2 separate regions of the Homo sapiens genome follow, and region 2 is linked to region 1. Evidence: promoter capture Hi-C in 16 types of primary human blood cells and fetal thymus (Javierre and others, 2016). All regions are on one chromosome and are shown on one strand. The core of a region is centred on a gene start or on the middle of the fragment in contact, and the rest is flanking DNA. Distances in the headings are between cores, read along the strand shown. Region 1 holds the start of PDE12 (phosphodiesterase 12). Region 2 holds the start of TASOR (transcription activation suppressor).

Region 1 (4,431 bases), core at 138-2,637:
CTTCTCCTGCGCTGATGGGTACAAAACTAGTTTCTCCAGCAGTTCTTTGTGAAGTGGGTCGGACTCGAGGGCTTCGTAGAATGAAATGTCATGCTGGCTAAGAAGGCTGAACTTAGACTTTCGGTAGAAAGTGGCCAGGCCTTCGTGCTGCTTGATTCGAAACACCCCCTCGAGCCCGAAGGCCTCTAGGGCGGGTACCAAGCTGTCAGAAAACACTGCGCGGTCAACCTCCTGCAAACAGATGACATCGGCGTTGTAGCCGGTGAGTTCCTTCTGGATAAGGTTCTGGCGGTAGTCGAGCTCCAGGGCGTAGGGGGCACAGTATGGGTACAGAACCGTTCGCGAGAACTCAGTCTGCGCGTACGTGTCTGCCAGGATGTTGTAAGAGACAGTGCGGATGAGAGCGTCCTCAGTCACCTTCTTCGTGTAGAGATGCCGGTGGTCAAAAGTGCAGGTGCCAGGCCCAGCCTCTACCACACACACACTTTCCAACTCCCGGCTGTGCCCAAAGCGCTGCCCATCGCCTGGGGTGCAGTGAAGCTTGAGCCTTAGCCCGATGTCGGCATTGGACGGGGTGTAGACACGCTCCTCCACATCAGTCTCAGTCCAAGAAGAAGAAGGTGAGGAGGGAGACAATGACGAGGGGACACCGACCTCGGGCTCCGCCGCTCCGGGCTTGGCTTCCTTATACCAGCGGAAAAGGGAGCTGGCGGGATCCCCAAATTCGAGGCTGAGTTTGGGGCACACAGGGAACCCGGCCATGATGTAGCGCGGCAACTGCAGTTCGGTGAAGGCGGGCGGGTTGCGCTCCACCTTGTACTTAACATCGCCGATCTGCAGCACCGCGCCGTCTTGCCAGGCATCCACGTTGAGCACGTCCTCAGCCACTGCCTCTTCCCGGTAGTACAGCTTCACCACGGGCTCGCAGAACACAGCCGGCTCAGGCCCCGGCCCTGAACAGGCCGCACCGCCGCTAGCATTCGGCCGGCTCTTCCTGCTCTTCTTGGCGGCGGCCGCCTTAGCGTGACCCTTTAGGGCATTGGTAGCGATGCGGCTGAGGACTCGACCCAGCGGCTCGCTCTGGTCGCGCTGCATGTTCTTGTGGCTACCATCAGCCAAAGCGAATGACAGGCTCAGCTTGGGTTCCGAAGGTACGCAGCGCACTACAGCGCGCTCCATCGCTCCCGCCGCTGTCTGGCTCCCCGCTTCAGCCCGGCTCAGCTTCTCCACCGCCGTCCGGATCACCCGAAGCGCGGCGCGGGCGCCTGGGAGCCTCCACATGAACCTGGTGGCCTAGCGGTCGACAAGACCCGCGGCCGATCAGCGGCCTACTGTCAGGTGGAGCTGAGGAGCCGAGGCCGCCGGCTTTGACTCATTCAGATCTCGCGACTTCCGGCTAGCGAAGAGAGGGAATGAAGTGCTTCCGACTCGCACTTTCGCCTAGCGCGTGGGCACGCATGTCTGTAATACTCTGAAGATTAATTTTTACCTACACGATAGGTCAGAATTATAGGGAAGTGAAGAAAATATAAAGGTGTCAGAGGAAAATACTAGATTCCACGGTTTTGTCGAAAGTGCATGCTGGTGACGGGAGGGCATGCCCTCCAAGCCGGAAGTGGATAGGGTGGTGTCACGTGTTCCGCTTCGTTGGAGGAGGTGGACACCTGTCTTGGAATCTTGGCTGACCAGCTCTCCTCCCTGCGCCCGGGACTGGACTGCGCTAGGACGTGGAGGCCTCCACCCGGATTGCGAGCTTTACTCGCAGTGTGGAAGGTGTTGCCCATTTCATCTCCACAGCTTTGCCGACCCTGATCGCTCGTTTCGGTGGCCTGGTGGGTTCACCCCAGGCTGAGCCAGCGCCTACGCACCTCTGAGCAGAGCCTTTGTGGTAGTTAACAACGAACGATATACAATAACTCCGTTTAGTGAGCGCAGACTATGCGAGAAACGCTACACACACTATCTTATTTAAGCCTCATAGTTCTTATGAGGTAGGTCTCTTTATCCATCGCTTTACAGATGCAGAGTCCCGAGATATTACCTGCTCAGGGTCACACAACTATTAATTGGCAGAAAGAAATAGTACTGACAAACTGCGGAAGGCTGTTTGTTATTTTTTATTAGAGACAGGTTGTCACTTTGACGCCCAAGCTGGAGTGCAGTGGCCTGATCATAGCTCACTGCCCCCTCGAACTCCAGGGCTCGTGCGATCCTCCCGCCTAACCCTCTCAAGTACAAACAGGCAAGAGCCACCCAGTGTTTATTTTTAGTTAGTAAATAGGAAGACTCTATTTAGTTACTACATTTAACAAATAAAATTACAGGATCTCAGTTAAATTCAATTTCAGATAAGGAATAATAATGGGGCATATATTAAGAAATAGTTGTTTATCTGTTTATTTTATTTTTTTATTTTTTAGGTAGGGCCTTGCTCTTTCACCCAAGCTGGAGTGCAGCTGTGCGATCTTGGCTTACTGCAACTTCGGCTTCCAGAGTTCAAGCGATTCTCGTGCCTCAGCCTCCCAAGTAGCTGGGACTACAGGCACACACCACCACGCCCAGCTAATTTTTGTATTTTAGTAGAGAAGGGCTTCACCATGTTTCCTGGGCTGGTCGCGAACTCCTGGCCTCAAGCAAGCCCCCCGCCTTACCCTCCCAAAATTCTGGGATAACAAGTGAAAACCACCTCCCCTGGCCTAAGGAATCGTGCACTTTATTGCTATTTCTTTTAAAGGTCTTAAAGACGCCGGGCCCAGTGGCTCACGTCTGTAATCCCAGCACTTTGGGAGGCTGAGGCGGGTGGATCGCCTAAGGTCAGGAGTTCGAGACCAGCCTGGCCAACATAGTGAAACCCCGTCTCTACTAAAAATACAAAAAATTAGCTGGGCATGGTGGCGCACACCTGTAATCCCAGCTACTAGGGAGGCTGAGGCAGGAGAATCGCTTGAACCTGGGAGATGGAGGTCATAGTGAGTTGAGATCATGCCATTGCACTCCAGCCTGGGCAACAAGAGTGAAACTCCGTCTCAAAACAAAACAAAAAAAGGTCTTGAAGAACGAATGAATTGCTTTACCTGTAGACCAGAAAGAGGTCCAGTGTGATGAGTAAGGTGAGACCAGGGGAGAGTAGCAGATAAGAAAGATATGCATCCACCAAATTGTGTAGTGCATTCTAAGCCATAGTATGAAGTTCTGGATTTCTTCTAAGAGGGCCATTAGAGTTGTTTTGCTTGCAATTATGGAAAAGCTTTAATTTTCATTTTCTTGAAAGGGGAAAAGCTAAAAACATTTGGTTTTAATTGCAAGAAAAAAGGTGTTTGATACTGTAATTGTCATTGGCCTCCATGTAATTATTTTTTTATTTTTTTATTTTTGAGATGGAGCCTCACTCTGTCACCCAGGCTGGAGTGCAGTGGTGTGATCTCGGCTCACTGCAGCCTCCACCTCCCGGGTTCAAGCGATTCTCATGCCTCAGCCTCCCAAGTAGCTGAGATTACAGGTGTGCACTGCCATGTCTGGCTAATTTTTGTATTTTTAGTAGAGATGGAATTTCACTGTCTCTACTAAATATGTTAAAACGCCGTCTCTACTAAAAATACAAAAATTAGACGGGGTTTCATTATCTCTACTAAACATGGTGAAACCCTGTCTCTACTAAAAATACAAAAATTAGCCGGGCGCAGTGGTGTTCGCCTGTAATCCCAGCTACTCAGGAGGCCGAGGCAGGACAATCTTTTGAACCTGGGAGGCAGAGGTTGCAGTGAGCCGAGATCGCGCCACTGCCCTCCAGCTTGGGAGACAGCAAGACTCTGTCTCGGAAAAAAAAAAAAAAGAAATATCTTCAGAATTTAATTTAGACATTTTGCCTACATCAATTGGTCAGACAGATTTATGCTTTCTTTGCTAGATGTTTTAAAGTCATAAAACTGTTGCTTCCGTGATATTTTTAATACTTGCTTGATTTGTGTATAAGTTAAAACTATGAGGTCAGGCTGCGGGGCTCCCCTGAAACCTTGCACACATTTTGATATGAGCTTTTGTCTTTGGCTTTGGGCCTCTGGATTCTGAGATCTAGACAGGTGGCCATGGTGAAGCCTGGAAACGTGTGTGTCTGTATCACCTGGACTACCAGCTGCATGTAAAGCTGAGTGCAGTATGGCCCTGTCCTCCCTGGCGCAACTCTGCATCCTTATCATGTTGGGAGGGGTTGGAACCTCCACCATCATCTTCACAGCTTTATCCTCTGTACTGGGCTCTATACCTGGTATGTAAATCCAGGACACAGATGGGCTCTGCCCTTCATAGCTGTCCTGGATGCCACATGGATACTCAGGAACAGGGTGACTGGGGTTGGAGAAGGACAAAGGGATATTGGGAAAAGTGCCTCTGTCCAATATCTGAAAGGCCTTGGTTAAGATGAGACTGGCTGAT
Region 2 (4,746 bases), core at 1,552-4,051, 870 kb after region 1:
TTTCTTGAGTGGATAAGTGGTGGCATTAGCATGCAATTAGTTGTTTTTGTTTGTTTGTTTTTAATAGAGACAGGGTCTCACTTATTGCCCAGTCTGGGCTTGAACTCCTGGGCTCAAGTGATTCTCTTGCCTCCACCTCCCGAAGTAGGATTTTGACGTGAGCCACACCTGGCTACAATTCTTATTTTTGAATTTGATAAAAATGAGCTTTTAGGGATGCCTTCAATGAATCAACAAAAAAGAAAGTTACCAATTTGGGACTGCAATGTGAGTTTCTGATCTTCTGTACTCTCTTTTAAATCAAGTAAAGCCCTTCCCCCAACTAAAAAACTTTTTCTTAAAATAATGTATTTTTCCCTCAACCTAGACCTCAGTTTTTCATTTAAACATATTTTAAAATGTGTGTGTGTGTTTTGAGACAAAGTCTCAGCCCAGGGTGGAGTGCAATGGTGCCATCTCAGGTCAGTGCAACCTCTGCCTCCCGGGTTCAAGCAATTCTCAAGCCTCAGCCTCCTGAGTAGCTGGGATTACAGGCATGTGCTACCATGCCCGGCTAATTTTTGTATTTTTAGTAGAGATGGGGTTTCACCATGTTGGCCAGACTGGTCTCCAACCCCTGACCTCAGGTGATCTGCCCGCCTCGGCCTCCCAAAATGCTGGGATTATGGGCGTGAGCCACTGCGCCTGGCCTAAAATGTGTTTTTAAACTATTTACTAATAATGGATTTACACTCTCTTTCGTATGATTTACTAAATTGTTTCGAATAGGTTGGGCAATTCATGATTTTTTTTTAATATCAGCTGTTAAACAGTGGTAATGTTTATTAGAGGACAAAAGAATCCAACTTTCGTGTTGCCCTTAGGAATGCTCTTTAAGCCTGGGGCTTTATTATGATGATAATTTGGTCTGTAAACTCCTTGGGAGACAGTTTGAGACTAGAGATCTGGGTCTCAAACCTGATCCTGCTGCTTGGCGACCCTCAACAAAATGTCAGCCCTCTGTTGCTTCGTCCATAAAATGAATAAAAGTGCACAGCTGCTGTGAAAATTAGGTCTTAGAGAAGCAGTCAGTGCAGTGCTTAAGTACTTACTCGGAGAGTTAAATAGACCCGGTTTCAAATCTTCGGTTACCATAATTTGTCCAGTGTCTTGCAACGCTTCTTTCAAATTCTGCAAACTAGTATCTACCTCATGTCTGTTGCTGTGAGGATTAAATGGAGACAATGCACGTAAATCACTTGTCCAGTCCGTGTCTAGCACGTAGAAAGCACTCAGTAAATATTGGCTGTACTCACGATAACCCGTGATAGTTTATACTGATAAGGTAGAAACCACTATGTAAAGGGCTCTTAACTATGAAGTTGTTCCCTTTATGGGAGAGCGACGACCTGCTGTGTATTTTTTAATGTGACCGCAAGTTTATTTTTTCTTTAATATACATTTACTATAGGAAAACGTTGATGAACGTTCCAGTGGAAGAAACAGTGGAGTTAGAGGTTTATCAGTGGCCAGATTTTTAACAGAAGTAACCATAGAAAGGGAACAAATGGAGGCCAGGTGCGGTCTCCATGGCGTGTGGTGGGGGGGGGTGCGACTAAAGGAAAAAAATGGGAAAAGTTAACAGCCTCCTCCCCTCAAACTCCCCAGAACCAAATCCTGTTAACACTAGGTTGTTAAGTCCCATCAGAGGATCTCAGGTGAAAGTGCTTGCTGGAGCTGTGACACTGGGTCACACTCTCTGAGATAAAAGAGAAGGCCGGGTGCGAGTAATCTATCATAAAGATACAAGATCCGGTGAGAATAGCAGGTCGCAAAGGCTGTCGAGGCTTTTAGGCTATTACCGCCTAGCCCATTCTTTTATCTCCTCTCCAGGTTTTTGTACACATGCAAATAGTTCATAAAACCGAGATCGTCCCGCATCCACTGCTCTGAAGCCCGTTTGGGCCGAGATAACTCGTGCGCAGAGGAAGGGTTTTGCCCACAAATGGGCGACGCCTGCGCTCCGGAGAAGAGGCCAAGCTAGTCTCCCTCGCCTGCAGCGCGGCGGGGGAATCCCCGGGAACCCGAAGATCGCCAGGGGCCCACGCATTCCGCAGGCCACGGCTGCGGCGTCGAGGTCCTCGCGGGGCGTTGCGGTCGCCCCTTTTGGCGGGCTCGGGCGCCCCGAAACTCCGCCCCCCGGCGCGGTATTTCCGCACTCGCGCAGGCGGGTGCCGCGCTCCCATTGGTGGAGTGGCCCGCGGTGGCCCCGCCCCCTCCCGGCCCCGACGCGCGCACGTTGAGTGGCGGGGGAAGGCAGAAGAACTGCCCGAGGGAGGAGCGGCTCCGAGGACCGGGCAGCGCATTTGGGGTGCCCGCTACAGGGCCCCCCAAGAGGCTGCCAGGTCGGGAGCGCAGCCTGAGGCCACGGGGGGAAGGGGGTGGGTGGGCTGAGAGCAGCTCGGCGGCGAGACTGGCCCGCCGCCCCTTCCCCCCACACCCGTCGACCTTGTGGGCAGAAGCTTCCCAGAGCTCCTTAGGCCGGCGCGATGGCGACTGCTGTGGAGACGGAGGCCTGTCAGCCGACGGATGCGAGTTGGGAAAGTGGCGGCGGCGGAGACGACGAGATGAAGCAGGCGCTTCCGGAGCTTGAGTCCTCCCAACAAAATGGCGGCGGCGGCGGCCTCAACATCGCTGAGCCCAGCGGCGGCGCTGGGCGTGAGGAGAACGCGGGGGCCGAGGCCGCCCAGAGCCTCAGCCACGAGCAGCCTCAGGACTCCTCTGAGGCGGGCGCGGCCGCCCTGCCCAGAGGCCCCGAAGAGCCCGAAAGGCCTGTTAGGAGGAGTTTTCAGATCCCCAGGAAGAGCAGAGAAAAGAAAGGTGGTGCCTCCCCTTCTTCTCAACCCCCTCTCTCTCTCCCCTCCATCTTTTCATTAGAATCTTTCTATCTCCTCTTCCCACACCCATCCGAGATACGTAAACACGCATGCAGCGCCGGCCGCCTCTCCCCTCACCGCCACGGCCGCCCAGCTGCCGCGTTTGGTGCGAGAGAAAGCGGTGGAACCACGCTCCCCTGCTGCCCCTCCCCGCGGAAGTTGGAAGTAGCTCAGGTTTGAAGCTTGTCCGTAAGGCTGCAGCTCCCAGAGAGGAAAGATGGTGCTCGGCGCCCCTCCCTCCCAGCCCCTGAAAGCAGAGAAGCCGTTGTGTCCTCCTAAGGATGCTTCTGAGAAGTCTCGCTATGGAAATAGCCCGTGGCCATGGATTCTGGGGCTTTCTCCAAGGCCATTGCCAATGTTCTGAGGACCATGAGTGCTTCTCCCCGTGGAAATTCTTCAGTTCTGTGTGTCTACTTGAAATGTGCTTGATGTCAGCGTCCTCCCTTATTTAGAAATCTCTATTAGTAGATGTGATCCATGCACACTGCTGTTTTCCATCACACTTCATTTCCATGTAGATTTTTCCCCCTTGTTTTTGAAGCGTTAGATTAAATAGGTTTTTCTCTCTTTAAATTCGAACTTAGTATTGTTTTTCTTATATTTGAAAAGAATGGAAAGGTAGGTTCTTGGAGCAGTAATTTCCCAATGGAAAAAAACTAATGAGAAGTTACCTTATTCTCAAGAGTCACCAACTTGGTCTTCTAGATGGTAGAACTTCAGGTTAAAAAAAAGTCCAGTCTTAGTTTTTGGAACCCATATGGAAACAGTTACATTAATTACTTGTACTTTTAAAAAATCTTAATGCCATATTGTTAATATGGAGTCAGAATTCCTAATGGAGGTCAAAATTAGTATCGTTTTTTGTTATTGGGGTATTATTTTTTAACTATCCAGTAAATTTTGGATATTCTGAATTTAGACAACTTCCTTTTTGCCCTACTGTATGGTTAGGTTTTCATTATTTACTTTGGAAAAAAATAGGATTTGTTTTTTTCCCGTATCTTTTCCATCCATCTGGTACAGAGTCTTGGCTGTAGCATTATACTGACTTTCCATAAGCATCACCAGTTCCATTTGCACTACTGGAATTGTTTGAGCCTTTTATTGGAAAAATACAAATAAAGTTCATTTGTTTGGATGGCAAAGCCAAGAAAATACTTGGTGTGAGAAACCATGTTGACAAAGATGAAGTTAACCTTTGGAAATTAGCATGAGGAATGTTTCTAGAAATATCTTTTGAGTTAATGTAATTTTAGGGTTCAGAAAGATACTTTTAAAGGTCAAAACTCAGTTCTTTTCGTGTATTTAGTTAAAATTTGAGATGTATGATTATAGTCTGTATGAGAAAAGTTCCCAGTGTAATCAATTGGTAGAGAATAGGTAGGAAGTACATTCAAATGGGCTCTGGTTATGAGGTAGGAGGTGGAACTATTTTTTTTCTTCACAGCTTGATAAAAGCCGTTTGAAATCTATTTTTAAGGTTTAAGTGCCTAAGAATATGGACAAACCGTGATTTTTTTTTTTTTTTTTTTACTGTTTGTTAGGACCAGAAGATTGGCCTAGAAACTCTTCAAAATTTAGTTTGAAATGTGGGAAGGCAGTAGGAACTGGAAAGGCACTGTGTTTGTGTGTTTTTTTAAAATTAGATAAAATCCAGAGATTGTTGTAAAATAGACTTCAGCTGAACACACTAAAAGTGGAAATAATTGAGGGATTAGGAAATATAAATCTAGCTGTTGTCCCCCATAGTCTTGTACCTCTTGGGTAAAACTTGTATTTTCCATTTTTACTTACAGACAAAAGTTGGGAGGAAAATATATCGCAGTGGACT

The links. Contacts are between HindIII fragments. The CHiCAGO score rates a contact against its expected background, and 5 or more counts as called.
Region 2: a contact is called between a fragment that was not itself captured here and the fragment with the promoter of PDE12 in region 1, in 1 of 17 cell types (total B cells). The highest score is 5.4, in total B cells.

Annotation. Positions count from the first base shown.
Region 1 is chr3:57,553,230-57,557,660 of GRCh38, reverse strand. PDE12 (phosphodiesterase 12) reads right to left here and starts at 1,387. Exons shown (of 3, transcript NM_177966.7): 1 at 1-1,387. The coding sequence starts at 1,281. It also overlaps a transcript of DNAH12 not described here. RefSeq lists enhancers at 454-623, 1,114-1,893. The HindIII fragment of the contact is 2,707 bases long and covers 543-3,249 here.
Region 2 is chr3:56,680,789-56,685,534 of GRCh38, reverse strand. It overlaps TASOR (transcription activation suppressor), which reads left to right and starts at 2,270. Exons shown (of 24, transcript NM_001365635.2): 1 at 2,270-2,859. The coding sequence starts at 2,529. RefSeq lists a silencer at 2,138-2,437 and enhancers at 2,578-2,747, 3,168-3,287, 2,495-3,439. The HindIII fragment of the contact is 596 bases long and covers 2,504-3,099 here.